Regions from separate parts of the Homo sapiens genome. Here regions 2, 3, 4 and 5 are each linked to region 1. Evidence: promoter capture Hi-C in 16 types of primary human blood cells and fetal thymus (Javierre and others, 2016). All regions are on one chromosome and are shown on one strand. Each heading gives the region's core, a stretch centred on a gene start or on the middle of the fragment in contact. The rest is flanking DNA. Distances are from core to core; before and after follow the strand shown.

What was found. Contacts are between HindIII fragments. The CHiCAGO score rates a contact against its expected background, and 5 or more counts as called.
Region 2: a contact is called between the fragment with the promoter of PDE4D-AS1 here and the fragment with the promoter of ERCC8 in region 1, in 3 of 17 cell types (total CD8 T cells, naive CD8 T cells and fetal thymus). The highest score is 5.8, in total CD8 T cells.
Region 3: a contact is called between a fragment that was not itself captured here and the fragment with the promoter of ERCC8 in region 1, in 5 of 17 cell types (fetal thymus, monocytes, naive CD4 T cells and 2 more). The highest score is 6.5, in fetal thymus.
Region 4: a contact is called between a fragment that was not itself captured here and the fragment with the promoter of ERCC8 in region 1, in 1 of 17 cell types (non-activated CD4 T cells). The highest score is 5.4, in non-activated CD4 T cells.
Region 5: a fragment that was not itself captured here is called in contact with the fragment with the promoter of ERCC8 in region 1 in 1 of 17 cell types (monocytes); the score reaches 6.5 in monocytes.

What each region holds. Positions count from the first base shown.
Region 1 is chr5:60,942,193-60,948,528 of GRCh38, reverse strand. It overlaps ERCC8 (ERCC excision repair 8, CSA ubiquitin ligase complex subunit), which reads left to right and starts at 3,459. Exons shown (of 12, transcript NM_000082.4): 1 at 3,459-3,597. The coding sequence starts at 3,521. NDUFAF2 (NADH:ubiquinone oxidoreductase complex assembly factor 2) reads right to left here and starts at 3,324. Exons shown (of 4, transcript NM_174889.5): 1 at 3,147-3,324. The coding sequence starts at 3,273. RefSeq lists an enhancer at 2,559-2,688. The HindIII fragment of the contact is 6,619 bases long and covers 1-3,660 here.
Region 2 is chr5:59,036,479-59,042,814 of GRCh38, reverse strand. PDE4D-AS1 (PDE4D antisense RNA 1) reads right to left here and starts at 3,049. Exons shown (of 2, transcript NR_198970.1): 1 at 2,745-3,049. PDE4D (phosphodiesterase 4D) reads left to right here. Exons shown (of 15, transcript NM_001104631.2): 6 at 3,844-3,956. RefSeq lists a silencer at 3,611-3,680. The HindIII fragment of the contact is 4,461 bases long and covers 1,674-6,134 here.
Region 3 is chr5:62,405,037-62,411,372 of GRCh38, reverse strand. No RefSeq gene overlaps it. Among named protein-coding and RNA genes, the nearest start is that of DIMT1, 4.3 kb to the right of the region's middle. The HindIII fragment of the contact is 3,071 bases long and covers 3,493-6,336 here.
Region 4 is chr5:62,354,886-62,361,221 of GRCh38, reverse strand. It overlaps KIF2A (kinesin family member 2A), which reads right to left. Exons shown (of 21, transcript NM_001098511.3): 7 at 5,968-6,063; 8 at 3,477-3,531; 9 at 2,923-3,085. Among named protein-coding and RNA genes, the nearest start is that of DIMT1, 46 kb to the left of the region's middle. The HindIII fragment of the contact is 1,516 bases long and covers 2,141-3,656 here.
Region 5 is chr5:59,812,555-59,818,890 of GRCh38, reverse strand. The region is part of intron 1 of PDE4D (phosphodiesterase 4D); the gene reads left to right. Among named protein-coding and RNA genes, the nearest start is that of PDE4D, 78 kb to the left of the region's middle. The HindIII fragment of the contact is 2,529 bases long and covers 2,152-4,680 here.

The sequences.
Region 1 (6,336 bases), core at 2,210-4,709:
CACTTAAATAAAATTCTAGCCAGGCGCACTGTCTCACATCTGTAATCCCAGCACTTTGGGAGGCCGAGGCAGGCAGATCACAAAGCCAGGAGTTCAAGACCAGCCTAACCAACATGGTGAAACCCCGTCTCTACTAAAGATACAAAAAGTTAACTGGGCAGGGTGGCACACATCTCAGTTACTTGGGAGGCTGACGCAGGAGAATCACTTGAACCTGGGAGGCAGAGGTTGCAGTAAGCCGAGATAGCGCCACTGCACTCCAGCCTGGGCGACAGGGCGAGACTCCATCTCAAAATAAACAAATAAAAATAACTAAATAAAAATTATAAAAAATACAAACTAATGTATAGTGTCAGAAATCAGATGAGTGCCTATCCATGGAAGCAGAAGCATAAGGCAAGACTAGAAAGGAGCACAACAAATTGTTGTGGATATTGAATATGTTAATTTTCTTGACTGTGTTGATGGTTTCACAGATATATACATATGTCAAAACTTACCAAATTATACATTTTAAGCATGGGCAATTTTTTTTGTCAATTATACTTCAATAAAACTCTCAAAATGCAATTACAATTATGTAAGAAAATATACAAATTAGTGAGAATATGTAAAAATAAAATATTCATGTTATTGTAGAATAGACATGACTGTTAATTTGAAACTTTAATGGTATTGTATCTCTATATAAATGAATGATACAAAAACTGGTATAAATATATTTGTTTGTTGTTTTTTGGGCTTGTTTTTTTTTTTTTTTTTTGAGGTGGAGTCTCACTCTGTCACCCAGGCTGGAGTGCAGTGGTGTGATCTCGGCTCACTGCAACATCCGCCTCCCAGGTTCAAGTGATTTTCCTGCCTTAGCCTCCCGACTAGCTGGGATTACAGGCGCGTGCCACCATGCCCAGCTAATTTTTGTATTTTTAGTAGAGATGGGGTTTCACCATGTTGGCCAGGCTGGTCTGGAACTCCTGATCTCAGGTGATCCACCCACCTCGGCCTCCCAAAGTGGTGGGATTACAGGCATGAGCCACCGGACCCAGCCATAAATGGATTTTTTAATGGGCAAAAGGTTTGAACAATACTTCACCGAAGATCTGTAGATAGTAAATAAGCACATGAAAAGACTGTCAACATCCTCAGGCATTAGGAAAATGAAACTTAAAATCACAATGAGATACCACTATATACCTATCAAAATGGCTAAAATAAAAATAAAAACACACCCAAAAATCAGATAATACTAAGTGCTGGTGAGGGTGTGGAAACAACTAGAATTTTAATGCATTGCTGGCAGGAATACAAAATGGTACAGCCACTTTGAAAAACAGTTTGGTAGTTTCTCATAAAGTTAAACACACATTGATCACACAACTTAGTAATCCCACTACTAGATATTTACCCAAGAGATATGAAAACTTACGTTCACACAAATCCTGTATGGGAATGTTTGTAGAGCTTTTGTCACAATCACAGAAACTGGAAACATCCTAATGTCCTTCAGCTTGTGAACAGATAAACTGGCAAACCCATACAATGGAATACTACTGAGCAATAAAAAGGAACAACTACTGACACATGGATGAATCTCAGCTACATTATGCTATGTGAAGCAAGCCAGACTCAAAAGTCTAAATCCTGTATAATTCCATTTATATGATATTCTAGAAAAGACAAAACTATAGGCCCATAAAACACATCAGTAGTTGCCAAAGGGTGTGGGAATGAACTACTAAGGAGTTGGAGGAAATTCTGATGGTGATGGAATTATTCTATTACTTGAATCCAGTGAGGTTACTCTACTCATTTGTCAAAAACAATAAAACTGTACACCATAAAGGGTGAATGTTACTGTATGTAAATTATATTTCAATTTAAAAAAACTCAGTCTGACAGTTTGCATATTTTTAATTTTACTGACAACTTATGGAAAAGAAACATCTCTCTGCTTGCAACCTGTCAAGAAATACTTAACACCATGCTATGTTCTTTGCAGGCTTTTTTCTTTTTTTGTGAGACATATTCCCTGCCTGACAGAGGAGCTCATTAGGGAAACAAGTCTAAATATTAAAATAAGTTACAGAAAAAGGCCAGGCAAAAATAAATTAATTGAGTGATAAATCACAGAATACATTTTATATGTGTGGGAAATGAATGGCACATAATCTTGGAAAGGTCTTAGTGCTTCTCAACATTGCTGATCTTATATTATCTCTAACTTTCAAGTGAGGATGTTGAGACTTGGAGAGGACAAGTACTTTTTCCGTGATTCCCGAGCTATCAGGTGTCAAAGCTGAGATTCTAACCCACGCCTCTTCGCCCAAAACCTGACATTTTCTGCATGCGGCGATGGAACAACACAGAAGAGGTTACGACGGCGGCTACACAGTGTGATTTCAATGGACAGCAACGCCTCCTTACTCCCCAAACAACCCGCTCAACTACTTGGCACGAATCCTACACAGTAACACCATGATTATTGCCACGTTTCTTAAATTGAGCTCAACGGGGTCTTGGAATGTCAACTCCCGAGAAAGGAATCAGCGAGCCTTGTGGGGATATGGACCTACTTCTGACAAGTCTTGGTAGTAAGGAAGGCGCATGGGGCCAGCGCCGGAGCCAGGGTGCCACCGAAAAGGGTAAACACCAAGAAAGAAGACAGCCGAGGCGCTGAAGATACTCCTCTTCAATTACACCACTCAGCTCTGGGTCACAAGGCGGGGAACAGCGTACGAAAAACCCCTCCCCTGGCCCTTCTAGCCCCTTTGGTGAAAGATTTCCGTGGACTTTTCCCTGCCTCCGTCGCCAGTCCAGGGCTAAAACTGAGGCTCCTCTACAGGCGTGGCTGGGAGGAAAGTGGTGGTGCGCCTTAACAGCGCAAGCAGCCCGGGGCACGCCGGGGGAAGGCGCTGGGTAGTAGGGACCGCGGACGCACGAGGCCGGGCCAAGGCGCCCAGAGCCGGGCCGGGTAGGGCTCCGATGCCAGAGTGAAGGGGTCGACAGGGGAGAACGAACTCGGGAAATTCTCTCCGGTGACACCCTAAGTGTCGCATGATGCGTTAGTTGACTAGGGGCTCTCACTTTTCCCTCCTTTACTGACCTCGCAATCACTGACCACGCAATCGCTGCCCACGCCGCCACCTCACCTCTCCAGTTCTTGTACTGCGGGATGTAGTAGTATTTGTTCCCGAATTGGTCCGTGCCCACGTGCTCCTTCACTTCCCTTGACAGCGATCTCCACAAGGCGCGGAACAAATCCTGAGACCAACCCATGCCGTCCACCCAGTTTCCAGCGCTGCCAGCAGCGGGACCCGCAGTAGGGGTAATGCTCCAGCCGCCGACCCAGCCCACCGAGGCGGAGAAGTCAGGTCGGCCTCCATCCTGGAGCCCTTCTAGTAACGGCGCTCACCATTGGCCGGATATATCACCGACTGACCAATGGGAGACTCTGCTGTTCCAGTCCCGCCCCTGAGCTCTGTCATGGCGACGTCCAGTGCTCCAGCCGGTGTGAGGACACGATATGCTGGGGTTTTTGTCCGCACGCCAAACGGGTTTGGAGGACCCTCTTCGCCTTCGGAGAGCAGAGTCAACACGGAGGTAAAGAAAACCTTACTTTTTGGCTAACAGGCCAGTTAGAATCTGGACCAATGACTGTAAGCTTTGCCCCACACTTTCCCGTCTCATCGCTCTCCTGCCACCAAACTATTATTTGCCCTCTAATGCTGTGTGGCTTGCTAAAATAGGATCCCTTTTATTTACTGGTAACAACTTGCAGGCGGGGGGCGGCGGGGGTGGGGGGGGTTCCCCGGGGGTGGGGGGGGGGTTCCCCCGCGGGCTCAGGTGAAGACACTATAAACCTAAATAAGAATACTTCGTTGTACTGTATTCCTTCTCTCTTAAGTTACTCCAAAGAATAACTGCCCTCCACGGACTCGTTCATTCATTCAGTCTGCATATTTAGTGAATTCCTACAGTGTGCCAGGCAGCCTATTAAAGGCAGAGGACACAGGCCAGGAATTGAACAAAGTTCAGAATGACTAGAGCGGAGAATTGGGGTAGGGACCATTGACAAGAGATGAAGTAGACAGAAACTAGATGAGGAAGAGCCTTGTGTACTTGAGTAGAGGTGTGAAGATGAGAATAAGGTAACAGCTATTGCATTTTGTTTTCTGCTTGGAGAATGGGTTGCAACTGAGAACAAGAGTGGGAGCCAAGTTAGGTAACTGTTGTGATTACACTTGTCCGGGAGAGAGTTGTTGGAAGCCTGGGCCACAGAGTTGCCAAGTAGAATAAAGATAGTGGAGAGATTTGAACAACGTCTGAGAAATAGAATCAACAGGCCATGGAAATTGAGTGGATACGTGAATGACAAAAAGAGAAGAATGAATAATGATTCCCAGATCTATGCCTTGTATAAGAAGTTGAATGTTGGTAATATACTCTGAGAGAGGGTTTTCCAAAGGGAAGAAGCAAGTTGTACTTTTAATTTTGCCCACATTAATTGAGGAACCTGTGAAGATATTTACTTGGAGAACACAGTTGCTTATGAGTTCTGCGTTCTGGAGAAATTTAAATATTAGTTTCCAACATTTTATCCATTACGTTTTCAATGTTGTGAAATATCTCTGAGAGTTCCTTTAATGTGTTTTTTTTGCCAGTGTCACTTCCTCTGACACATCATCAGCCTTTCATCACAATCACTTTTCCTCATTTATGTCTATAAGTTCACCTTCACTGATTTCCTCAGTCTGCATATCTAGAATGTCTCAAATGGCGGCAGTGTCATTGTTGCCACAATCAGCATGTTCCCACAGGCAGCTTTTTTTTCATTTGCTCCATTTATGTTTAATGCAAGTTTCACTTCTAGTATTATCACTCTTCTTTAGTGCACTTTCATTCTTTTGGCCAATTTCCTCTTTTAATCTGTAAAATTCCATGTGGGTTTATCTCAAGGGCACAGAAATATTAATAACAAACCTCCATGCTTTGCAGCCTGTGTGTGAACTGAATAACAGATGCACAGTGACCAATCACCCATAGACTTTGAAAGAAGTAAAATTGCAAATTGGTCAATTTTGATTCATATGTTATTTATGTAATGATTTGTGAACTGAAAAGCTAGTAGCAAACTTTTATGCTATTTCTCACGGTTAATAAACTGTGGTAACTGAAATTCATATCAGACTGTGCCAAGTGAGGATTGCTTATACGTTTAAGACAAATAAAGTATTTAAAAATTAAAAAAATATTTTTTTTTTGAGGCAGGGTCTTGCTCTGTCACCCAGGCTGGAATGCAGTGGTGCAGTTACAGCTCACTGCAGCCTCGACTTTCCAGGCTCAAATGATCCTCCCATCTCATCCTCCTAAGTAGCTGGGACCACAGACATGTGCCCACACACCTAGCTAATTTTTAAATTTTTCGTAGAGATGGGGTCTCCCTATGTTTCCCATTCTGGTCTTGAACTCCTGGGCTGAAGTGATCCTCCTGCCTTTGCCTCCTAAAGTGCCGGGATTATATGTGCGAGCTACCACACAGCCTAAAATTTTTTTAAAAATATTTCCATCATTAAGTGATGTTTTTGCTTAAACAATTATATAGTTCCATTTTATTCATAGGAGATGTCTACTGTTCTTCCTTGTCATCATGTAAGAGCAAAAGGATGAACACTGATATGCAGTGTTCACAGTTTACACCCTCTAAAAAAACATTTTACAACTTTATTGAGGTATAATTGACATGCAATACCCTGCACATTAAATGAGAATATACAATTTGATGAATTTTGACATATATTTACTTTTGAAACCATTACCATAATCAAGAGAACATCCATAACCCTAAAAAATTTTTGACGGTCATTTATAATCCCTGTCTCCCTTCTTTCTCTGCTTTACCCTCTTCCTTCTCTAGAAACTACTAATCTGCTTTAGGTCACTATAGATTAGTTTGCATATCTAGTATTTTATATAAATGGAATCTTTTTTGTCTGGCTTCTTTCACTCAGCATAATTACATTATTTTGAAATTTCTCCATGTTATTGCATGTATCAATTCCTTTTTTTTGCTGTGGAGTATCCCACTGTGCAGATATACCACAGTTTATCTAGTCACTTGTCGATGGACATCTGAGTTGTTTCCAGTTCAGGACTAATACATTTACAGCTGCTCTGAAAATTCATGTATGAGTCATTGTATGAACATATGCTTTTATTTCTCTGAAGTTAATGCATAACAGTGGAGCTACTAGATAAATCCTTTACTTTTTAAGAAACTGACAGTTTTCCAAAAGCATTTTCCAGTCCCACCACTAATAGGTGAGAGTGCTAGCTGCTCCA
Region 2 (6,336 bases), core at 1,800-4,299, 1.9 Mb after region 1:
CAGAAGCCAAGTGCTGGCCCGCAAGAATTGAGGACTGTTTGTTCACAGAAGAGCCTCAGCAGAATGCGGGTGTTACATAGTTCAAAGGTGCCTTGAAGAAAACTGATGCTGTTGTAGCAGGGGCCTTCAAGGCTCAATTTATTTCTCAGTTGCTGTTCCATAGCCCTCTCCCAGCCTTTAGGGAGTTTAGCCAATAGTTTTTGCTTGGGTGTTTTTCTCTGTTTAGTTCCTTGACTTAGCAAGATTTGGTGCAGTTAAAGAGTTTTCATGTATTTTTAAGGAGAGCCACAGTGTATACTACTCTGGCAGGGGTTGAGGGGAAGTATTTTATTAATGAATGCAGTATGTGTTCTTGGTAAAAGCCAAAATTAAACTGGCTCACTGTTTTTGTCCTGCTAGCTGTCGACATTTAGGTGTGTTGCTTGGTGTGGTGACTCAATTTCCTGTGGGATAGTTGGCAACTCCACTTTGAGGTTTGTTCGGCGGGATGAAAAGGTCAGTTACTTGATGTCTTAGAACACTTGGGGTTAAAATTCCTAAAAGTGAAGCTTTACAAATGATCCTGAAAAATCGTGGCTAGCTATATTGCCTACTCACCTAGGAATTTGGAAAAAAGCAATATTCTCAGCTCTATGCTAATATCAAGAATAATTCTTTATTTGAGCAACAGTTTCACAGAGCAAACTTTACTCTGTTAGTAATTATTTTCTCACTAGCATGTAGATGTGTTCCAGTGATTTTTCATTTTTCTTATTTATACAGATGTTAGAACTTAAAATATATGCTTACCCCATTTTATCATCATACTCAAATCCTGTCTGTCAAAAGTGGCTGGTGCATGGCTTGGACATAAAATGGATATTCTGAAGTAAATTGTTCCTCCTGTCACTATACTACCTTCTTAAGAACAAATCCTGTGTATAAAGTGCATGATGTCTTGAAGCATTAGCCAAAACTTTCCTGAATTATTTTCCACATTAAAAAATAACAACTGAAATATAATGTGTGGAGCCACATCCTGTTAGATTTGAAGCCTGAGTCTGAACAGCTTTGGGAACTTGGTGAAGATGGAGGAAGGGGGCAGTTTACTTAGCTACTGGGAAATCACTTGAGGCTCAGGCTTTGAGAAAGTTGGAGTGCAGGGGAGAGGAGCCACAGAAAGCCGAACCTCAGAGGGGACTCCCAGCTTCATTGTAACCAATGATTGAAAAGATGGCACTGAACAAATCCCAGACACAATGGTTATGCATCTTTAATCCACTGGATAGGCTAACTATGGACAGCTCAAATGATCATAAAACAAGTCAATGTCCTCTTAAAATTTCCTACATTCCTATATTATGGGAATGAGAGAGAGAGGAAAATATCAAAACCAAACCATATAGTAGATGCACTACCATGGCAACTAGGTGATGCTATACTTGCATATGGAAGTTATTCAGTAAAATGAAAATGATTGTGTTAGAGCCATAGGCGAAAGTATTGTTTGTGATCTTTAGGGTGTGGGGTTACAATGGACTTCCTATATTTGTGTGTAATGCTTCAATTTTTATAACAAGCATGTAATATTTTTTACATTCTTAGAATTGGGGAAGCTATACAGAGCAGGTATTTTATATTTACCATTTAAAATTATTAATATCTTTAAGCTTGTTAAGGGGGAAAAAAAAGCTTCAATCTGAAACTTTAATTCACCTGGCAAGGTTTAGGCAGTTGTTTGTCCATCTAAAGTATATATTTACATAGACTGCGGGGTGGAGGAAGTAGAACAAAAAAGAGGCAAATTTTAACCTAGAGTACTCAAAGTGAACAGTAAATAGTTCAAGTATTCTTGATAACAATAAGCCACGTGGCACATGTAACAACTACTTTAAAAGTTACTCTAACTTTTACAAAGTTCACATAAAAAGCTATCTCAAAAATCCCAGGAGCCTAAATTCAGTCCATGAACTTTATTTGTTGTGCCATGTTAATTTATGGAGTCTAAATTTCAAGGGCAGAATTTCTTCTCCAATACCTGTAGATTCAAAGACAAAGACAAGGGATCCCACCACTTAGTGTAAGTTTCTCAGTATCTTCTTTCCACTCGACAATGACAAAGTTTTATCAAATGGACCCTTGGGAGTTTGACTTCTCCTCACTATGAATGGTTTGCTTATTGCATGCTAATGTAGAAAAGTTCTCCCACAACTGATCTGCTTAGGGACAGTGTCCCTGGTGCCCTGGGTCAGCCTTTGTAAACAGAACAGGCTTTTCTGTATGCCTTTGAATATGGTCTTTCCGTTTTCTCAAAATTGTAGTGTACTCTGCACATGGTGGGTAGAAACACCCTTCCAGATTTTCTTCCTTGGCCCAAGATCATCTAGGTCTTATGCAATTCACAGGGGAAAGGAGTAGTATGCAGGACATGCGTAAATTCTCCTTACCATGTGGTTCTTTCACATTGCTGTTCCTTTAAGAGAACTCTTAGGCAATTCGGCATATGAAAATGCAGCCTATTGTCAAATTTGTGAATTATAAAGCGTTCCGACCCCACAACATTGTATATTTTGTTTGCTTGTTTCTGTCCGCCCCAACATTTAGAAGTCTGGTACTTAGTAGGGACTGGGCTGGGTAGAAAAAGAATGCGGTCTTAATTCCCACAACCCTGCCTCCTTGAAGTAGGTGAATCCTAAGCCTTTAGAAACGAACCCCCAGAAACCCTAAAACTTAAACCCTCAGAAACCTTGAGGGTCCTAAATAACCTTGTTTGTGAAACTTCGCAGGAAGCAGCCGGTCGTGGAGTCGCAGAGGCTCCAGCGGTCTGGGCAACCTGGAGGGCAGTGGCTCGGCGGGGCGCGCGGGGTTCTAGCGAGACAGGTGCGCGGCCGTGCGCGCCTGCGTGCCGGTCCCTCCTGAGCCCCGCGGCGGGCGCGACCCCGGACGGCGGACTGCAGGCGCTCCACGCCGGGTTTTCCGCCGCTCTCCTAGCACAGACAGTCCCACAGCAGCCCCACAGACACACACGCTCGCGCCCGCGCCTCCTCGTCTGCACTTCAAAGCGAGTGGCGCCCGGCTGCGCCGGGGGGATGGCACTGCGAGGTGGCGGGGCCCCCGGGGCAGAGCTCGAGGGGAAGGACGCGGCGGGTGGCACGGACAGGGACAGGCTTTTGCAATTCGGAATCTTTTCGTAAGGGGGTTGAGGAGGAGCCAGGCAGCGCCGAGGGCCGAGAGGGGCGTGAGGGGGAGTGTTCCCGGAAAGCTGCGGCGTTGGAGCCGCGCTGCGCCTGCCGCCCGAGGAGTTGAGAAAGAAAACAGGAAACGTGGTGGCCGCGCACCCGGCCGCGGCTGATTCATTCACTTCAAGTGCCGTGCAGAAGGCTCGGCAGGCGGGGCGGGCGTGGGGCCGCGGCTCCGGGTTGGGGACCGAGGAGATCCGGCTGTGGACCAGACGCTCCTCTGCGGGGCGGGCACCCAAGCGCGCTCGCCACCCCCTCGCCATCCGCTAGAGCCGGGCTCCTGGACTGGGACTCGGGCCCGCCGCACAGTTGAAAAGTCGCATAGTGGTTTTTCCGCTCGCGTCGCTGTGTGAAAGTTGGCTCGCCGCTCTTTGCACGCCCTCCCTGGAGGCCGACCCGAGACGCCAAGCTGGAGAGACCGTGCCTCCCCGAGGCCGGCCGCCCCGCGAGCACAGCCTCCGCCCCCGTTGCACTGCCGGGCTGGGCAATATGAAGGAGCAGCCCTCATGTGCCGGCACCGGGCATCCGAGCATGGCGGGGTATGGCAGGATGGCCCCCTTTGAACTCGCTAGCGGACCCGTGAAGCGCTTGAGAACTGAGTCCCCCTTTCCCTGTCTCTTCGCAGAGGAGGCCTACCAGAAACTGGCCAGCGAGACCCTGGAGGAGCTGGACTGGTGTCTGGACCAGCTAGAGACCCTACAGACCAGGCACTCCGTCAGTGAGATGGCCTCCAACAAGGTAAGCCCCGGTTCTGCTGTCACTGGTGCCCCCAGGCTGCTGATTCCCATGCCGGCGAGCCACTGGTACCCATAGCCCCGGGAAATAAATTGAGAGGTTTTTTAGGCTTACTGCATGTTGGCTATTCTGCTCCTTAGAGGGAGGTTCCTGTTTCCTTGCTTTGCCTCCCCTAGTCACGCCAGATAAACATTTTCCAAAAGCAATTTGACGTGCTAAATTTAAGTATCTCCCAAGACACAGGGTTCCTAAGTAACACTGAGCCCTTGCAGCAGAAACCCAGTAGGGTCCATGGGCATTGCATGTTTAAAGGTGTTCTTGGGATTCCCGGTTGAAAATAAGAATTGGTGGATGTCTGTGAAATCACTTGAATGTCACCACCTAGGGCACTCAAACTCAGAAGAGTTCATCGAACTTGGAACCTTCACCCTAATTCATCTAGTTGTCAGGGTACCCCGCAAGAACTGAGCCTTTATATATTCAGTTGGCCATACATATCCGCAGGAAACATTAACAGAGTTAGAAGGTTCCTTATGATCATTACTTTTGTTTCCATTAATCTTGGAAAGAAAGCCCAGTTTTTTGAGGTCATTTAGTACAAGGAGGCTTCAACTAGGCATCTGTGCCATATGTGCTAAGGTGCTGGTCTTGGCAGTTAATGGAGTTTTGAGGGCTGAGAAGTAACCTTCAGCCTGGGACAGCCTTAAAATAGCACGGAAGGCAAGGTATAGTGTTTTCAGTTTTGCTGTATTTTTTGGATTTCCTGTTCTTTTTGTCTTTAGTTATGCAAGGAGATAATTGGAATTGTGTATGTTTTTAGTGGCTATTTGCCTGTGCATGTCGTATGCAGATGGCTGAAGGATTCAGCCAGTAAGGACTGGTAATGTTGTGAGACAATTAGTAATAGTTGCCTCGTCAAGATATTTAAGTATTTTTGGCCACCTATTTACAAGGTCAAGAAGGTTATATTATCTTACAGTTCATCTATGTGCACATATCTTTAAATGAGTGATGCTTTTTTTTTTCTACCTTTCTATGGTTTTTATCCCACCTGTTCTCATGCAGTTTTTACAAAAAGGCCACGGCATAACAGCCACTTGATTGTCTTATCTATTAACAGTGCTTTTGTAGGTAGCATTGTCAAGTGAAAAGTTGGCTTCAAATAAATAAAAGGGGCTCTGTAGACACGGCCAGCAGATACTAACCTACCCATATGCACACTGACCTACCCATGTCCACACTGATGATCAATTTTTTTGTCATTTGTGCCTCATTTCTAAATTTGGCACAGCTCCTCATCAGAATGACCAATTATTGCTCTCTTACTGGGACTTTTACCCCCTGCTGTAGCATTAGGCACCTTTATTCTCATCTGAGTAACAAATTCTTAGTTTTATAAAATATAGTTTGTTTTCATAATTTGATTCTCAATAGCAGTAGACATATGCTGAATATGTCCAGTGTCCTAACTGCTAAATGGGAGCACTTTGCCATGGGCCTGAGTTCTTAATTCTATTGTGTGGTTGATTCTGTGTAAGAAAATGAAGAGCAGAATCAAAAGCCACTTAGCAATGTGCAAGCATTAGTGTATATTTTCAAGGTGATTCGACAGTAGTTTTTCAGCTAAATGAATTTGAGCAGCTAGTTACTTTCCCTAAAATCCATATTCTTAATGTTGAGATCTATGTTTGGATTTAAAACTGAATGTGAAATTTAATAATGTATTGTAAATGACTTCAGCTGTCAAGGAATTAATCTATACGTTAAGATTTAAAAATTTTTTAGGTCATAATAATTGCCTAAAATGATTCCTTTCTTTTAAAGGCACCAGATAAGACAGGGATTTAAAAAAAAAATCTTTATTATGAAGGCCCCAGATTAGACTTTGAGTTAATTTACAGGTTTAATAGGAGAGGTTGGTCTGTTTGGTTAAAATGAAATCTAGGTAAAGTGAGAAGATAATTTTTTCAAAATGTAGTCATTCTAGCAATGTTTATGTCTTGTGGCTGAAAAATTAGGATATTTTTTCCTAGCCCACGACAGAGCTGAATTGAAAAATTATTGCTGTCACACTAATTTTTAACATTAAACTTAGCTCAGCTTAAGCTGTTGCTTAAACTTTTAATGTCCAAGCCATTCGTGTCTTCTTTAACTTATTTATTTCTAAATCAGTGCTAAGCTTACATGACTGTTATAGACAAAAAAGGGTTAGCACAGAAAGAAAAAAAAGCTCTTGCTAAAGGTTGTAAAGTTACCCTTCTTCTTCATAACAAGGGCATGAATAAGCCACATCCACAAAAGCTGTAAACTGAGTTGGAGCAGCTGATCGGAAGGCCCCTGTGAGTGTTGCCACACCTTCAGTCTGAACTGGAAATGTGTACAG
Region 3 (6,336 bases), core at 3,779-6,278, 1.5 Mb before region 1:
ATAGTAAAAGAAGTTGTAAGGAAATAGAGTGTTCAAAAATATTAATAATAGAAAACCTTTATTGCTAATTTAGAATATTCCAGGTACAGTTTTAAGATCTTTATGGGAATTATCTATTTTAATCCTCAGAACAACCCTTATGAGGTAGGTATTTTCTTTATGTCCACTTCACAGATGAAGAAACTGAAGCACAGAGAAGTCAAGTAGCCCACCTAACGTCAAACAGCTAGTAAAAGGCCATGTTAGGATTTGAACCAAGCTCTGCATTCCAAGAATGTCGATCACACAAGGGCTGTTTTTTAAAGTAAAAAGATAAAATTACCTAAACAACCACCAATGACACAAATGATTAAATCACAATACATCCATACATAATAAAATACAAATTGACCATTTAAAATTATGTTGAGGTCGGGCACAGTGGCTCACACCTGTAATCACAGCACTTTGGGAGACCAAGACGGACAGGTCACCTGAGGTCAGGAGTTCAAGACCAGCTTGGCCAACATGGTGAAACCCTGTCTCTACTGAAACTACAAAAATTAGCCTGGCGTGGTGGCATGCGCTTGTAATCCCAGCTACTCAGGAGACTGAGACAGAAGAATCGCTTGAGGCCGGGAGGCGGAGGTTGCAGTGAGCCGAGTTCGCACCACTGCACTCCAGCCTAAGCGACAGAGCGAGACTCCATCTCAAGAAAAAATAAATAGGCCGGGCGCAGTGTCTCATGCCTGTAATTCCAGCACTTTGGGAGGCCGGGGCATGTGGATTGCTGGAGGTCAGGAGAGCGAGACCAGCCTGGCCAACATGGTGAAACCCTATCTCTACTAAAAATACAGAAATTTAGCTGGGCTTTGTGGCAGGCACCTGTAATCCCAGCTACTCGGGAGGCTGAGGCAGGAGAATTGCTGGAACCCAGGAGGCAGAGGTTGCAGTGAGCCGAGATCGTGCCACTGCACTCCAGCCTGGGCGGCAGAGGGAGACTCTGTCTCAAAAAAATATATATTAATTAATTAATTAAACAAAATAAAATTATCTTGAAGTGTATTTGTTGACATGTTTACACATGCACAATGCATTGTGAAAAAAGAGGGTTGCAAAACATTATGTTCAGAATGTCCCACTTTTGGAAATAAATAAATGCCAAAATGCTAGGAGGGTTTATCACTAGTTGGATGGGTATTGTGACCATGCTTTATTTTCTTTTTGCTTAACTGTATCTTCTGATTTTATTGAAAGATAGTACTTCTCAGGCTTGGAGAGGTGGCTCACACCTGTAATCCCAGCACTTTGGGAGGCTGAGGCAGGCGGATCACCTGAGGTCGGGAGTTCGAGGCCAGCCTGATCAACATGGAGAAACTCCGTCTCTACCCAAAATACAAAAATTAGCTGGGCGTGGTGGCACATGCCTGTAATCCTAGCTGCTCGGAAGGCTGAGGCAGGAGAATGGTTTGAACCCGGGAGGCAGAGGTTGCAGTGAGCCGAGACTGCACCATTGCACTCCAGCCTGGGGGCAACAGAGCAAAACTCTGTCTCAAAAAAAAATAAAAAACAAAGATAGTACTTCTCAAATTTTAAGTGTTCATAGAATCACATAGGGATCTTGTTAAAATACAGTTCATGATTCATTTAGTCTGAGGTGAGGCTCGAGGTTCTCCATTTCTAAACAAATTTAGATCTATGTTTCCTGGTAGGTAGAATAAAAGATGTCCATGTCCTAATCCCCAAAACCTGTGAATATGTTACTTTACAGAGCAAAAGGGATTTTGCCAATGTGATTAAATTATCCAGGATAATCTTACTATGGGAAGATTATGCTGGATTATCCTCTAGGTCCAATGTAATCAGAGGGGTCTTTATAAGAGGGACGCTGGAGTGTCCAAGACAAAGAAAATATGCCAGTATAATAGATGTCAGAGGGATGCCAGGGCCATGAGCCAAGGAATGCAGAAAGCCTATAGAAGCTGGAAAAGTCATGGAAACTGATTCTCTTCTACAGCCTCCAGAAGAAACTCAGACATGAAAACAATTTTAGACTTCTAACCTCCAGAACTCTAAATTAATAAATGTATCTTGTTTTAAGCCACTAATTAGGTTTGTGGTACTTTGCTGAAGCAGCAATAGAATATATGCTCAAAAGTTATAGGCTCTCTAATTTGCTACCCTTCATTTATTATTTTAACTTGCATAAAATTGAGTCTTGGATAACTCTACATTATAATACAGCTCATTAGATGCTTATAAATTAACATAATTCCTAGATTCATTTTTGTTTATAATAAACTTGAAACAAGTTTATTATTTCCATAAGGACTGATTATGTAAATCAGTCCTGGGAGGCAGAGGTTGCAGTGAGCAGAGATTGTGCCACTGCACTCCAGCCTGGGCAACAGAGCAAGACTCCGTCTCAAAAAATAAAAAAAGAAAATAATTTGTCAATTTATATTCAAAGACTAAAATGTTCACGCAGTTTGAGTAAATAATTCCATGCCTGGAAATCTATACTAGAGAACCAATTCAAAGTACTGAAAATATTTTCCAGGTATAAACTAAAATGTCTATGGCTCTATTTTTATAAGAACAATGGAATAGGCAGGATTTAGTAAACCCTTACGCATTCACAAGGTGAAAGTTTCTGTAGCAGTTTTCTTTCTTTCTTTTTTTTTTTTTTGAGACGGAGTCTCGCTCTGTCGCCCAGGCTGGAGTGCAGTGGCCCGATCTCAGCTCACTGCAAGCTCCGCCTTCCGGGTTCACGCCGTTCTGCTGATCTCGTGATCCGCCCCGCCTCGGCCTCCCAAAGTGCTGGGATTACAGGCGTGAGCCACCGCGCCCGGCCAACAGTTTTCAATATTAATTATTCAGAGTGTGTAATAACTTGGAAAAGGGCTTTTTTTTTCTTTTTTGCTTTTAGAGACAGGGTCTCTGGCTATGTTGCTCTGGCTGGTCTCAAACTCCTGGGCTCAAGTGTTCCTCCCATCTCAGTCTCCTTAATGAAGCTGGGATTAGGAGCATGCACCACTTTATAAAATAAAATATTTTTATTTATTTATACTATAAAATATTGTTTAAAATAAAAAATACATAAGTATAAATATACAATATAAAAATAGATTCTAGCCAGGTGTGGTAGCTCACACCTCTGATCTCAGCACTTCTGTAGGCTGAGGTGGGAGGATCACTTAAGGTCAAGAGTTCAAGATCAACCTAGGCAAAATGCCATCTCTACAAAAAATACTAAGATAAGCTGGGCATGGTAGCATGAACCTGTGGTCTCAGCTACTCTGGAGGCTGAGGTGGGAGGATCGCTTGAGGCCTGGACAGGGAGGTTGCAGTGAGCCATGATTGTGCCACTGCACTCCAGCCTAGGCAACAGAGCAGGACCCTATCTCAAAAATAAATAAATAGTAAAAATAAAAATAGACTCTAACCCACAAATAGAATTCTATGTACCCTAATAATTTGGTTTTTATTGTATTTGGAAACCTTCTAAAAGCTTTATTTTGCAACATGATATACATTATTTTATGATGTTAAAATAATTAATAGAGAGGCCATTAGACTGAGGCTGCTCCAGCACCCTGGGTTCCTACAGAAGCAAACCAAAACCCAACTCAGTGTATTTTATTTGCCATGCTTCCACATTCACCCTATAAAAGCCTTTCTTTGGTGCGCCTTTAACAGAGTCCCAAACTGATTCATGAATCACTGTCTGCTCAAATAAACATTTTAAGATTTTACTGTGCCTTAGTTTCTCTTTTAACAATGGTAATGATGTGGAAACATTTATCTGACAAATGTTTTTGAGAGGTATCAATTATGTAATATTCACTGACAAGGTTTACACCTATGCTGGTATTAAACAGAGACCATAATCATCTTCTTTAAATAATTGTATTAATCTAACATAGTCTTTATGATTATCTAAAAATATTTAGATCATTCTTTTTTGTTTGTTTGTTTTTGTTTTTGAGACAGGGTCTCACTCTGTTGCCCAGACTGGAGTGCAGTGGCGCAATCTCAGCTCACCGCAACCTCTGCCTCCTGCCTCAGCCTCCAGAGTAGCTGGGATTACAGGTGCACACCACCATACCCAGCTAATGTTTGTATTTTTAGTAGAGACAGGGTTTCACTATGTTGACCAGGCTGGTTTCGAACTCCTGACCTCAAATGATCCACCCGCCTTGGCCTCCCAAAGTGCTGGGATTATAGGCGTGAGTCACCATGCCCAGCCACATATTTAGATCATTCTAAAGAATACATTCATAGAAGAATCTTGTTTATAGTATTCAGGATTCCTTCCTTCCTTCCTTCCTTCCTTCCTTCCTTCCTTCCTTCCTTCCTTCCTTCCTTCCTTCTTCCTTTCCTTCCTTCCTTCTTCCTTTCCTTCCTTCGCTCCCTCCCTCCCTCTTTTCTTTCTTTCTTTGAGACGGAGTCTTATTCTGTCACCTAGGCTGGAGTGCAGTGGAGCAAACTCAACTCACTGCAACGTCTGCCTCACTGCAACCCAGCCTGGGCCACTATTTTAAAAATATAACATTTGAAGCCAGGCACGGTAACTCATGCCTGTAATCCCTGCACTTTGGGAGGGCAAGGCGGGCAGACCACTTGAGGCCAGTTCAAGACCAGCATGGGCAACATGGTGAAAACCCATCTCTACTAAAAATACAAAAAAAAAAAAAAAAATTAGCCAGCGTGGTGGTGGTGCACGCCTGCAATCCCAGCTACTTGAGAGGCTGAGGCATGAGAATAGCTTGAATCTGGGAGGCTGAGGTTGCAGTGAGCCAAGATCATGGCACTGCACTGCAGCCTGGGTGACAGAGCAAGGCTCTATCTTAAAATATATATATATATATATATTTATATTTATATATGTTTATATTTATATTTAAATATATATATTTATATTATATATATGAGTTGTGTCTTTAACAGCAAACAAAAGTTAGCCAGGGGAAGGTCGAGAATGCAAAAGGAAGAGCACTCACAAAGCCGAGGTATAAAGATGTTTAAGGAAGAAAAAGGAACTTGATAACGTTGGGAAGTAAATAAGTAAGGTAAATAGGAACTTAATTTGAAAGGCCTACAATGCTATTCTAGGGAGCAATAGTGGTCATTCATTGATGAATCAAAAGAACAATTTTGCCTTCTCTGCTCTTGTCTCCAGGCTGTGGTTACACAGCAGTACACATTGGAGATACTGGGCTCCACATTTAGCTGGAAGACATGCCATGTCTTCTTGAGTTCCCTCTAATCTTCCTCTCCCATTGCGCATAAAGGATCTTCAAACCTTCTCCGCACTCATGCCCCTTGTCCTACCACCTCCACAGCTCCTTCTCTACAGAAAAACTTGCCTTTTATTTCACAGAAGAAATGCAACCTAGAGGCCAAAGCAGGCAGATCACTTGAGCTGAGAAGTTTGAGATCAGCCTGGGGAACAAAGTGAGACCCCGCCTCTACAAAAATTACAAAAATTAGCTGGACAAGATGATTCATGTCTGTCGTCTCAGCTACTCGGGAGGCTGAGGTGAGAGCATCGCTTGAGCCCGGCAGGCGGAGGTTGCAGTGAGCTGAGATCATGCCGCTGCACTCCAGCCTGGGTGACAGAGTGAGACCGTCTCAAAAAAACAAAACCAAAAAACCCAACAACAACAACAATAACAAATCACACACAGGGTTTTGTGTCATGTTAATTTTTTTTTTTTAAACAGGGTATCATGCTGTCGCCCAGGTTGGTGCAATCTTGGCTCACTACAAATTCTCGGGCTCAAGTGAGGCTCCCACCTCAGCTTCCCGAGTAGCTGAGACTACAGGCCTGCACCACCACGCCTGGCTAATTTTTGTATTTTTTGTAGAGACGGGGTCTCACTTTGTTGCCCAGGTTGATCTCAAACTTCTCAGCTCAAGTGATCCGCTCGCCTTGGCCTCTCAAAGTGCTGGGATTACAGGCATGAGCCACCTCTCCAGGCCATGTCCATCCTATTAACATTTGGAAGTGCCTAGCACAGTGTACTCTTTAGAATTGTGGAATAACAATGATTGATGAAATGAAACATATACTTGAAGATGCTACTAGGGTATACGAGATTTTTTTTCTGACTTAGAACTACATCAAAGAAAGAAGGGCCTAAGACCAAGGTTTGGGAATGTACACAATGAATTGCTCAAAAGAGAGTTAGCTTTAGTAATGACAGGAAGAAGCTATTTCTTCAACCAAACAGAATACACACAGAAAAATTTAAAAGAGCCATTACACTGGCTGGCAAAACAGATGTGGATATTATGGCCCTGGTACACACGGAGTTTATAGTCAGGTACACTGTCCTGTCACAACGACCAATA
Region 4 (6,336 bases), core at 1,649-4,148, 1.4 Mb before region 1:
GTCAGAATGTGTCACCAATATTTTGATGAATAATAGTAATGCTGAGTAATACAAAGTATTTTATTAATAAATAAAACTTAATAGCAAGATTCTAAACAAATCTTTGTTAAAAATTTTAAATAACAATATCGAAGAATTGATTTAAGAATTTTAAATATCATATGCTAAAATTACTTAAACTACTTAAAGCATAATTTCAAGCAATATTTCCATAATAAATAATGGTCACAATAAGGCATATACAATAAAAACAAACACAAAGTATTATAATTTCAACAGAAACAGAATAAACAAGAGTGGTAATCTCAATTTTAAAAAGTTAATAGAGGAAAAAAACTGCAAAAATATTATCTATAGACCATCTAAATAAATAGAAAAATGTTGATTACCTTGAATTTAGACAAGTAATTTATACTTAAGCAAAAAGAATATAAATTGTGCTTGTAGGAAAATGAATTCTATTAGTAAGTTGACACTCTCAATTTAGGAAAAGGATACCTAAATATTATGGTTTGAATTACATTTTTTTTTTTTTGAGACGAAGTCTCGTTCTCGTCCCCCAGGCTGGAGTGCAAATGGCGCGATCTCAGCTCACTGCAACCTCCGCCTCCCGGGTTCAAGTGATTCTCCTGCCTCAGCCTCCCGAGTAGCTGGGATTACAGGCACCTGCCACCACACCCAGCTAATTTCTGTATTTTTAGTAGAGACGTGGTTTCACCACGTTGGTCAGGCTGGTCTCAAACTCCTGACCACAGGCGATCTGCCCGCCTTGGCCTCCCAAAGTGCTGGGATTACAGGCATGAGCCACCGCACCCGGCCTTGAATTATATTTCAAATGTATTGGTATAACCCACTGCTAGAGTTAAAATAAAAAGGTGGGAAGGTATAAGAAGTACTTTTCCCCTGAGCAGTACACTAAAAAGTATGATGGAGGCCAGGCGTGGTGGCTCATGCCTGTAATCCCAACACTTTGGGAGGCTGAGGTGGGTGGATCACTTGAGGTCAGGAGTTCGAGACCGGCCTGACCAACATGGTGAAACCCCGTCTCTACTAAAAATACAAAATTAGCTGAACGTGGTGGCACACGCCTGTAATCCCAGCTACTCAGGAGGCTGAGGCAGGAGAATCGCTTGAACTGGGAGGCAGAGGTTGCAGTGAGCCGAGATCATGCCACTGCACTCCAGCCTGGGCGACAAGAGCAAAACTCAGCCTCAAAAAAACAAAAAAAAAAAAAGATGGAAAACAGATCTACAAGTAGAACATTTTATATAACTGCTGTCTTTGTTTTGTTTTGTAAAAGGCAAAACTGAAGAAAGTACAGAACAAAAGGAGCAGGAAAAAGTTCTGGTCAAACAGAACTAGGGATGAGCCTGCTAAGTAGATCAAACCCCTACCTCCCAACCCTACCCACAAAAAAACATGTAACTCCTCAATCCATAATAGTTAAGTATAAGAGATAGAGGAGAAGGATAAATATTGATAAAGTTAAGAAACATAAACATAGGGTAAAAACACAATGTTTACTAAATCATACACACAGAAACATGCCTGTATTTGTAATAATTTCTTAAAAACTATTATAAAAGTCAAACTTATATTTTATGAGGCAGGAGTAGAAAGAGGGAATGAAAAGGAAAAGTGGACTCTTCAGAAAGCTAAAAAAAAATTCTACAATTAACAATTATGATTCCCCTTTAAACATATTCTTCACAAATATCTCTATCTAGTATTCATATGTCCTTTAATTTGATCCTTTTTTTTTTTACAACTGACTACCCAGTACACTTGGTGAAGACAAAAAGAGTTGGTCTCAAAAGTATTTCCTTTGTAACACCTTCAATTCTTAGTCTCATTAACTCTAATTTTTTCCTTTCTAGGCATTTTTATGAAAAAGGGCAATCAGATATAGTATTCAAGCAATTACAAAGACAGTAATATTCCTAGATAAACCAAAATAACAATACTGCTAAAACTGGTGTTATAATTATTAGAAATGAATGTTTGCAAACTTACGTATGAAAATCTAAATCTGGCATAAAAATTTGAGATACCAATGTATAACACAGATAAATTTGAATTATTTTTAAGTTGAATACAGAAAACATACAAGAATCTCATGTACTAAAACTATCTCCAAGCTTAAAGATGACAAATTTAAATACAAGTACGGAACTTTTTCGCCTTAAGTGACAATACATACTAAATACAGATTTAGATAAATTAATAATTAACTGATAACAGGTATTTTGGCCAGGCATAACAGTGGCTCATGCCTGTAATCCCAGCACTTTGGGAAGCCAAGGCGGGCAGATCACTTGAGCTCAGGAGTCTGAGGTTAGCCTGGGCAACATGGCGAAACCTCAACTCTACAAAAAGTACAAAAATTAGCTGGGTGTGGTGGTGCATGCCTGTGGTCCCAGCTACTCAGGAGGCTGAGATGGGAGGATCACCTGAGCCTGGAAGGTCGAGGCTGCAGTGAGCTGTGATCGTGCCACTGCACTCCAGCCTGGGCAACAGAGCAAGACCATGCCTCAAACAAACATTTCAAGTTTCTTTATTAGTACAGAGATTAAAAGGTAAAAATTAAAAGTCTTCTTATCATATCCTATTCCTAGAGGTAATGTTAACATTTTCCCGAAATTTCTTATCCATATACATGGTTTGTGTGATATGTATATATATGTATATATATGTGTAATAAGCTAATTAGCAAATAGTAATGGAAACTATGATTTTGGGGAGCATTACAGAGAACAAGTGTTAATATTCATTACAGCATTTATTACATTCTCTTTGTTTAAACTCAGAATAAAACAGCATATTGCACCTCTTAAGAAATATCCCACAATCAATGTAAATTTCAAGGTGCTGATGACCACATGGCATAAGAACAAAATTCTGATTTAAAATGAATTTACCTACCTGTAAACCATTTCATTAGGAGCTGAGTCATCAAAGGCATAATCAAAACGAAATGTTTGGTTTTCTAGGTACCTTGTTAAATCTACTTTTTGTTTTGGTTCATGTACCATCACAACATCTTTACTAGGAATTGTGATTACATCAAGATCTTTCATTTGAGTTTCTAAAAGAATAAATGAAAATCAATGCCCAATAATTTTCACAGCATTTGAGTTCATGTACAAAATTATTTTAAGTAGTAAGAACTAAGATACAAGTAGTAAGTTCTGTACATATAAAGATAATATCCCATAAAAATGCAACTCACTAAGACAAAATATTTCAACAGCAAAGTAAAAACAAAATCAAGATTTCTGTGAAGCAAGACTCGGAATGGCAATGATTCAGAGCAATAACAAACTGACAAGTTTAGCCATAGAAATCTGCATAATGGTTACATACAAATCAAAGGAAATGATTTACATTTTTTCCAAACCAATTTGATTTGCTATTATAAAAATACATTACAAATAAGATAAAATCAATCTTTTATTAGAGCTCATTAAGTGCCATACCTTTTTTATTGAGTGGTCGTTTTCTTACACACACACATATCCTATGTTCATCAATCTAGAAATAAAAAGTATTTTATTTCAGTGATTATTAGTGTCATGTAAAACACTAAAACGTAAATTATGTAATATTTCCTCCAGGGGTTTTAGAAATTTATACATAGCATAAATGATAGGTAAGCTTAAAAAACAAATTAGCTTTGCACAAATTTTAATGGTTGTCAGATATAATTACTTCTAAAATTCTGAGTGTAATGGAAACTTGCTTATTTTGTTATTTGGAAAACCATCACTTTAGGAAATAATTCTGTAGAGGGTACTACTATTGTTAGTAGCATTAAGTTCACATTAAGAAGCTGTGAGGAGGCCGGGCATGATGGCTCATTCCTATAATCCCAGCACTTTGGGAGGCTAAGGTGGGCAGATCACCTGAGGTCAGGAGTTTGAGACTAGCCTGGCCAACATGGAGAAACCCCATTTCTACTAAAAATATAAAAATTAGCCGGGAGTGGTGGTGCATGCCTGTAGTCCCAGCTACTCGGGAGGCTGATGTGGGAGAATCACTTGAACCTGGGAGGTGGAGGTTGCAGCGGGCCGAGATTATGCCTCTGCCCACCAGCCTGGGTGACAGTGAGACTTTATCTCTGGACCAAAAAAAAAAAGAAGTTGTGATGCCAGGCATGGTGGGTAATCCCAGCACTTTGGGAGGCTAAGGTGGGTGGATCACTTGAGGTCAGGAGTTCAAGACCAGCCTGGCCAACATGGTAAAACTCCATCACTACTAAAAATATAAAAACTAGCTGGGCATGGTGGTGCATGCCTGTAATTCCAGCTACTCAGGTGGCTGAGGCACGAGAATTGCCTGAACCCTGGAGGTGGAGGTTGTAGTGAGCCGAGATCCTGCCACTCCACCTCAGCCTGGGCAACAGAGAAGACTGTGTCTCCAAAAAAAAAAAAAAAAAGCTGTATTATCCACTTCAAGATGTGCTATACACAACAAAAGTCAACATTTCTATTCTACTAAGTGACATATTTTCATAGGTTGATCATAGGGAAAGTTGCTAGCAAAGATAACTATGGCAAGAAACAGGATTCTCAGACGATTACTGAGCCAAATAATTTGAACTATTTTATAAATATGCCAATTCTTATGCATAAGTATTTTTTATAAAAATTTTGTTCCCAATACATGCCTCATTTTAATAATAATTAACATAAAGCAAGGATTAGCACAGTATGGCCTGTGGGTCTAATTTAGCTACTACCTGCTTCTGCAAAATTTTACTGACACACATTGATTGAAACAAATGTCATACCCATCATTTATGTATTGTCTATGGCTGCTTTTACAATACAATGACAGAGTTCAGTAGTTGTGACAAAGACCATATAGCTCCAAAGCCAAAGACCCTTGCAGAAAATGTTTGCCAATTCCTGTCCTAAAGGGTGAGCTCTAATGCAGTAAGTGAAACACATGAAGGAATAGCAAGGCCTAAAATATGTGGGATACAAGTATTATCAACAATTCTATTCAATTCTATATAATACATCTATCTAACACAAATGTCTTTTTTGTAACTAACACATTCTGTATATGCTATGTCAGATGGATTATTTTTATAAGTACAAATTAGTTATAAAAGCATTCCCGGCTGGGCGTGGTGGCTCACGCCTATAATCCCAGGCATGATTACAGGCCTCCCACTTTGGGAGACCGAGGCGGGTGGATCACCTGAGGTCAGGAGTTCGAGACCAGCCTGACCAAAAAGGTGAACCCCGTTTCTACTAAAAATACAAAAATTAGCCGGGCGTGGTGGCAGGCGCCTGTAGTCCCAGCTACTTGGGAAGCTGAGACAGGAGAATCGCTTGAACTGGGAGGCGGAGATCACACCATTGCACTCTAGCCTGGGCGATGGAGCAAGACTCCATCTCAAAAAAAAAAAAAAAAAGGCACTCCCTGTCCAATGAATTCTCATTCATCAACAGCAAAGGAGTTGAGTAATAACAGCAGAGGATTTTTTCCAGTTCTAGATTTCTGGTCCACTGCAGCCCTCAACAACCATCACTTATTGTTAAAAGCCAGAATAACATTTAAAACTAACAAATTACCAATAGTAAATTAGAAATGATGGTGGGATCTACAGCCCAAGACAAAGATAAGCTTGGAACTGAGATCAAAGTATAACTCACAGTCAGAAAGGAAAGTGAGTCTTCTGCTATCACTCCTTTAAGTGTTGCTTTGCCCTCCCAAAGACAGGGAGGTTTTGCTTCGAGAAGGACATCTCTATAGGGAGCATATCTCATATACCAAATTATGGAAAATAAGCATTAATGTGGATAATTTCTTGATTTTCTTCTTAAAATATGGGGAATGAGCACCCACAAGGAAAGGAAAAACTACATAGCTGAACACAATATGAATTTAGCAAGTGTCAAACACGTTTTTATTTGAAGCATAAAAAGTTCCAGAATAATGGTTTACAAAGAATCTTACAGGATCTGCTGTTGTTAATGGTCTATAATCCAAACTTCCTCTAAAGTCTCTGATCATACACATAATTTCATAATTTGGGTTTGTAGCATCAACGTCCTATTAGAAGACAGAGAGAATTCACCATTATAAATATAATAATGTATTTGTTACATTTATATTTGGTTTGAAAATTAAAATTAAATTGTGCCATTTGTCATAACCAAGCCTAAACTTAAACTGACGATATTATATAGTTTCACAGTTGTGGTTTCATAATAAGCTCTGAACCACTTTGTGTTTGTAAAATTGTGTTTTACAAACACAATTCTCTTAGTCGGTATGCATTCTGTTAACTCCAAATTAAGGACTCTTCATTGAAGTTACCCTTCA
Region 5 (6,336 bases), core at 2,167-4,666, 1.1 Mb after region 1:
TTTCTTGTGTTTTTTTTTTTATCTACTTTTTTTTTTTGCTCTTCCCCAGGGAAACTAGAGGAAAATTCTTCATCCTGATAAGAGTTTTTGGCACCAGAAAGGATATTTTACCTGTAGTCTGACCTACATGGAGTGAGGGAGCCTGAACATGTTTCCATGAGTGTTCTAGTTCAATGGGCAGAAAGATCCATCAGGAGAAAGCCTTTGTCACTGATGGCTTTGAAATTGTTCAAATGACTTTGCAGTTCACAACACGTGAGCTTAATCATTGGTTTGGCTCTTCTGAGGAGCTGAGGGAGACAAAGAAGCAAAGTTATTTTCCCAGAGGTAGTGAGGCCCAAGATGCTCAGAAAAGATTTAATTGAAAGATGCCATTGCTGAAATTTCTTTTATAATGTTCTGCCTGTGGCTTTCCAATAGTAATAGTAGTAGCAGTTGTTGTAATAATAGAGATAGTAGTTGTATTGATAGCAATAATAATAGCTACTATTTATTGAGCACTGACTGTGTTTCAGGCATGGGTCCATGCACTTTACATATATTAACTCATTTAAACCTCCCAACAACCTAACAAGGTAAAGATGATTATTATCCCATTTCACAACTGAGCAAACTGGGACATGAGATTTAAGGAACGTGCCCAAGCTCACACAGCTAGGCGATCACCAATTATACATTTCCTCTCTGCAAGAGAACAGTCTATTTTTCAAAAACATGCTGATAAAACAGCAATCCCATTTGCTTCTAAGGACAAACCCTGCCATGCCTGAGTGTTGCCATTCTTAAACTCCAGGCCAGGGCTTGCCTTTGGATACATGTGAGCTTCACTGGGCTCTCTGCTCAATGTCCCTCCTCAGAGTGTCTCCCTAACCACCTCTCTTGATCTCTCTCCACCCCTTTATTCCACTTGGGTTTTCTTCAGCACACTTAGGGCTACCTGACAGTGTTAGCAAGGCTACAAAGCAAAACACCAGATGGGGTGGCTTAAATAACAATCATTTATTTTCTCACAGTTCTGGAGGCTGGAAGCTTGAGATCAGTGTGCCAGCTTGGTTCAGTGCTGGTTATGGGTCTCTTCTTGGCCTGCAGACACAGACACCTTTTCACTATGTCCTCACATGGCCTTTCTGTGTGTGTGTGGGGGGGGGTGTGGGTGTGTGCGCGCGCGCGCGTGCCTGCATGCCTGTGTAGGGAGAAAGAGAAAGCTCTTTGCCTCTTCTTATAAGGTCAGATTAGGACCCTACCCTTATGACCACATTTAAACTTATTTACTGACTAAAAGCCCTATCTTCAGATATAGTGACATTGAGAGTTCAACATATGAACATATGAGCTGATAGGAATATATGAATTGATGGGAACATATCAACACTTCAACATATGAATTGGGGTGAGGGACGCAATACAGTCCATAGTGGTGACCCAGCATATATTTAATAGGTCATTAATGTGTTTACTATGTGTCTTTCCCACTCCTCCCGGTATTAGTAATCTAAATACCAGTAAGGATTTGAGGTTCTTCTTTGTTGTATTCCTAATACCTAAGACACTGTCCCACACATGGTAGATGTTCAATACATATTTGTTGGATAAATAAAAAATACAGAGCTCCCTCTTCTCCCCTACATGTTGGAAAATGTGTGTGATCTAAATGAGGGAGAGGGAGAACCATCTCATCTAATCTTCCAAACTTCCTGAGCCACCTTTAGCTACTGAGCACATTCACGTTTCCGTCAGCTGGGAATTTAGGTGCCCTGCCTATCATCCTCTGGAGCCCATCCCAGGAGGGGGCAGAAGGAGGTGGAGCAGCACACTAGTGTTCCCAGAGTGGGGAGAGCAGATGGAGAGGAGTTCATGGGAACGATGATTTACCCCTGCTCACTTACCCCTGTGAGAGGACACTGCCCTCCACGAATCAATGCTGGCTCCTCCTCCAGGAACCAGGCTTCTGCATCTCACTTGCCATGCTGTGGATCTAGGAACAAATTTGCATTTGGAAATTCATTTTAAAGTGTGCATGCTGAGGTTCTGGTGACATGCAGGGTAACTTCTCCCACCCACGATATCTCTTGACTCAGGCCTTCATGTAGGAGGGGAGGAGTGTTTGGCAGCAAAACTGGGTATTTCTTAGGAAGGAAATCCTTCTAAGCTTTATGGAAATCCTAGGGTGTTGTCCCTACCTTTCTGAGTGTGGAGCAGACTATCTGTGTACATAGCGGTAGTGAGGGGTGTAATATTGGAGAATGGCTTAGGTAACAGCCAAAATATACATTGTATATCCCCAAAAAGACGACCAAAGACTCACAGGCCATGCTGCTATCATTAGATATAATAGGCATAGCCTTTCATTGATATGTAAATGTTAGTATTTTTGGTAAGTGCCTTATTTTATCTTCTGGATAATATAAGATACAAGTACCATGAGGGCAGGATCCTTCTCTCATTCATTTTTTTTCCCAAGAGCATAGCACAAAGTAGGAAGTACTTGTTGAGCGAATGAATGATCCTAAATATGAAAGGATGGCATTTTATCGCCATTTTCCAGATGAGAAAAAAACGAGGGAGCTTATCAGGTTTATATATAGTGAGTGACAAACTTCAGAATTAAACCAAAATCTAGTAATTCCTATAACTTACAGGTTATTAAGGAGTCCACCTGAATGTAAGTCCAACAAGACAGGTGTTTATTTTGTTTACATACATTCCAAGTACCTAAGACAATGCCTAACATATATAAAATACTTCATAAACATCTTCATGTGTGAATAGAATTTTCAAAGTTCATCTCAATATATGCCTCATGTGACACTTCCAACCCTTCACTGCCAGGTCTTTCAGTCTTTATTTGAATAGGTTCAGTAAGAAAGAATTCACTCGTGCTTTAGATATGTATGGCTTTTCCACATTGTTGTCAGTTCTAAATCCCGAAAGTTATTTTTGTATGCTTGGAATACTTCACAATATTCACAATTTTTACAATAAAATAATTTCAGGTCTTCTTGATGAAAAATGTCGATCAGGACAGGGCTGAGGATAATCACAAGGCTTGAAATTAAAGAAGTCTCCTTAGGCTGAAATGAATTTCTAGTTGTAAAACCAAATATGAATCTATGTATTTGTGTTCCTCAGACCACTTTTCCAGCAGGTCCTTGGCTGTATTTTGTATGCATTTGTGAAATGCTTTGTTGAAATTCAGTTTCAGCCAGGTCTGTAGCATTCTCCTGGCCCCTGGTCTGATAGTTGTACCAGGAACACTAGCTAACAATTGCATGGCACTAGTCTCAGCTGGATTTGTTCTAACTCTTTTATATGTATTAACTCAATCCCTACAACCACCCCATTTCATTACTATGCCCACTTGAGAACTAAAAACACTGAGGAAGAGCGAAGTTAAGTAACTTGCAGAGGTCTCAGAGCTAGGAAGTAAGACAGCCAACTCGGAACCCAGCAGACTAGCTCTGGAGCCTACCCACCTACCCTCCACACCGTACCTGTGGTCCATCCTCACCAACCAGGCCTGCTGCCCTGAGCATAACTTCACCCTCTTGCGTTCTAAAACTATCTGCTGATTAAGTGAGTTCTGAAATGTTTTCAGGGACCAATACTAAAATCAACTATGAAATAGTTTCAGAGATTGACCTTTCCTCCTTTTGGAATGGATAAGATTTTCCCAACCGAGGTCTCCCATCAGCTCTCCTGTTCCCCTGGACTGTGGCACATAGGAGGGCCAGGGACTTGCGCCTATTATTTCATTTCTTTTGTTATCCTTCATTTCTAGATCTCTTCTCTACCACAATTATCTCTCATGTTGACAGTTTCCCCACAGATGGGATGTCTATTTCCTTGATAATACAGCATTATTATGCTAAAATCTCTCATTTGTGTTATTAGCCAGACTCTGTGCAAAAACGTGTGTATATCTGAGACTCTGTGCTGTTCTTAGCCACCTTCTTGGTCCCTTCTCATGTAAATTACTAGGGCACTTCTTCAATATTATTATTATCATGCCCCCTTACCACCACCACAAAATCTTCCATCATAACCCATTTTTTTTTCCTCCTCCTTACCACATTTTCAGCTTTGAACTCTTATAATCAGATCAGGAATTACATTTCTGAACAAATGCAGGCTTTGCAGCATTGTGAAGTGCAGCTGGTCCCCAGCAGAGAGCCCTAAGCCCCTGCCTGAAGCCAAACCCCCTTTTGTGGCGAGAGGTCTGGATTTTATTTGTTGTTTTTATCTTTGGTGAACTGTCAACTGGAAGCAGAGATGCGAACACCAGTTATGTCCTCCCCTGCAAGGTTCATGACCAATACTTTATAGTTTCTGGATATGCTTCCTAGGTTTCTTCTGTTGGTGTCATTTGCCTGCATGTGACTCACTGGCAGGTGGTGATTTCATCATATTCTAGACATGTGTCTTAGGAAGCTGGCCCCTATCCTGGCTGGCTGGACACATATCGAAGTTCCTTAGATCTACCATTGTCACTTTCATATCCATTGTTAAATACTATAGATAGCATGCAGGGGTCAGCCAAATTGTTCTGTAAAAGGCTCAAGCATAAATATTTTAAGTTTTGTGGGACAGACAGTCTCTGTCGCAACTACTTGACTGATGCAGCATGCAAGCAGCCACAGACAATAAGTAAACAAATGGGAATGGTTGTGTCCCAATAAAGCTTTATTTATAAAAACTGTCTTTTTTTATAAATAAAGGAGCCCATCGTTTGCCGCCCCCTAGTGCCAGGAAGGAACAAGGGGAAAATAAGGAAGAGACCCAGAGGAAAAAAAGTGTCACCAACCATATCTCTAACTCATATTTATTTACTTATTTTTCTAAGCGCAATCGCTAAATTATCTCGTCTTCCTAAGGCGTATGAATCTCTTACATTAACTTAGGGACAGAATATAGAGTTTTATGTTATCTTCTGTGAGTTCTTTTTCCATTCTGTCATGTTTCAGACTTTCAGAGGTAATTTTTAAGTATTTCAGCTGTGCCTTAGATACATTAAGGGACCTATAGTGCCTCCCTGAGGCCAAGATGATGGTTGCAATCATAAATAGGTTATTTCTGAGTTGAGACTGGTAAGAACAGATTATCCTGCCCAGACAGTGATGTGCCAAGCATTGGCAACTTTGAAAAATTTGCAATTTGATTTTATAGGAGAGTTTCCTTAACAGGCCTGAGTTTTTTTCCCATTGCTTTTGTGAATACAGTATTTTCCCCTGCTAGACTCTTAGTCAAATGTTCTTGCCATTATAAGAAAAAAGGAAAACTGAAAAACTTGAAAATAATTTTATTGGCTTAGGAATTATTTTCATGTTTGTCTGCTAATGGCAAATAAATCTACCTTATTGAATCATACGGATTTTAATTCCCCGGGGGAAAGGTAACCAATGACAGGCATATGTGTGTGTGTGTGTGTGTGTGTGTGTGTGTGTGTGTACAAGTGTATGCTTGTGAAAATTGAACAGCAAAAAGAAATTAGGTGGAGAGGAAAACATTAAAGCTGGTACTGGTGGGTAATCATTATATATAGTATATATACACATATGCCTTCTCCAGTTTTATGGAGGCAGTCAGTGCCTCAAAGACGTGTAATAAAGAGACAGCAACAATTATTGGTGGCATTCATGTAGGAGAGGCTTGAGCCAATGTAAACTTGACTTGGTTAGTAATCTTTGCCAAAACTCCCTGATTGTTGTAAGGGAGTTGTGAACCATTAGGTTTGCTTAACCAGAACAGCAAGTAAGCATCCAAACAGATTGTCCTTGGACCATAAGCAAATGCCCAGAAAATAGCCCCCTGCATAGGATATTAAGTACTTAGAAACAAATGAGAAAAAATATTACAGCAAGTCTTCCAGGTATAGAAGGGATAAACAACCCTATTGGTATCAGAATTTAGGAATATTATTATGTCTCCCACTTTAAATGAAATACAGCAGCCTGACTTGGCAAAATTTGGGGAACGGTTCCCCTTCTTTGCAGCCAGGTTCGGTGCTTGCCCTCTGGCATCCCTTCAATTGTGTATATTACTGGCAGAGACAGCTGTTTGAGCTGCTAATAAGATTGCAAAATAATATCAGCTTGTGCTTCAGGTTGAAGATAAGAGATAACATTGCATTGGCTGTAGGAATGGCTTTCTTATAAACTGGATTTAGTTTTATCTCACTTGTCTCACTTGTTACTTTTTTATTTATTTACTTTTTTTTTTTTGAGATGGAGTCTCACTTTGTCACCTGGGCTGGAGTACAGTGACACGATCTTGGCTCACTGCAACGTCCGCCTCCCAGGTTCAAGCCATTCTCCTGCCTCAGCCTCCCAAGTAGCTGGG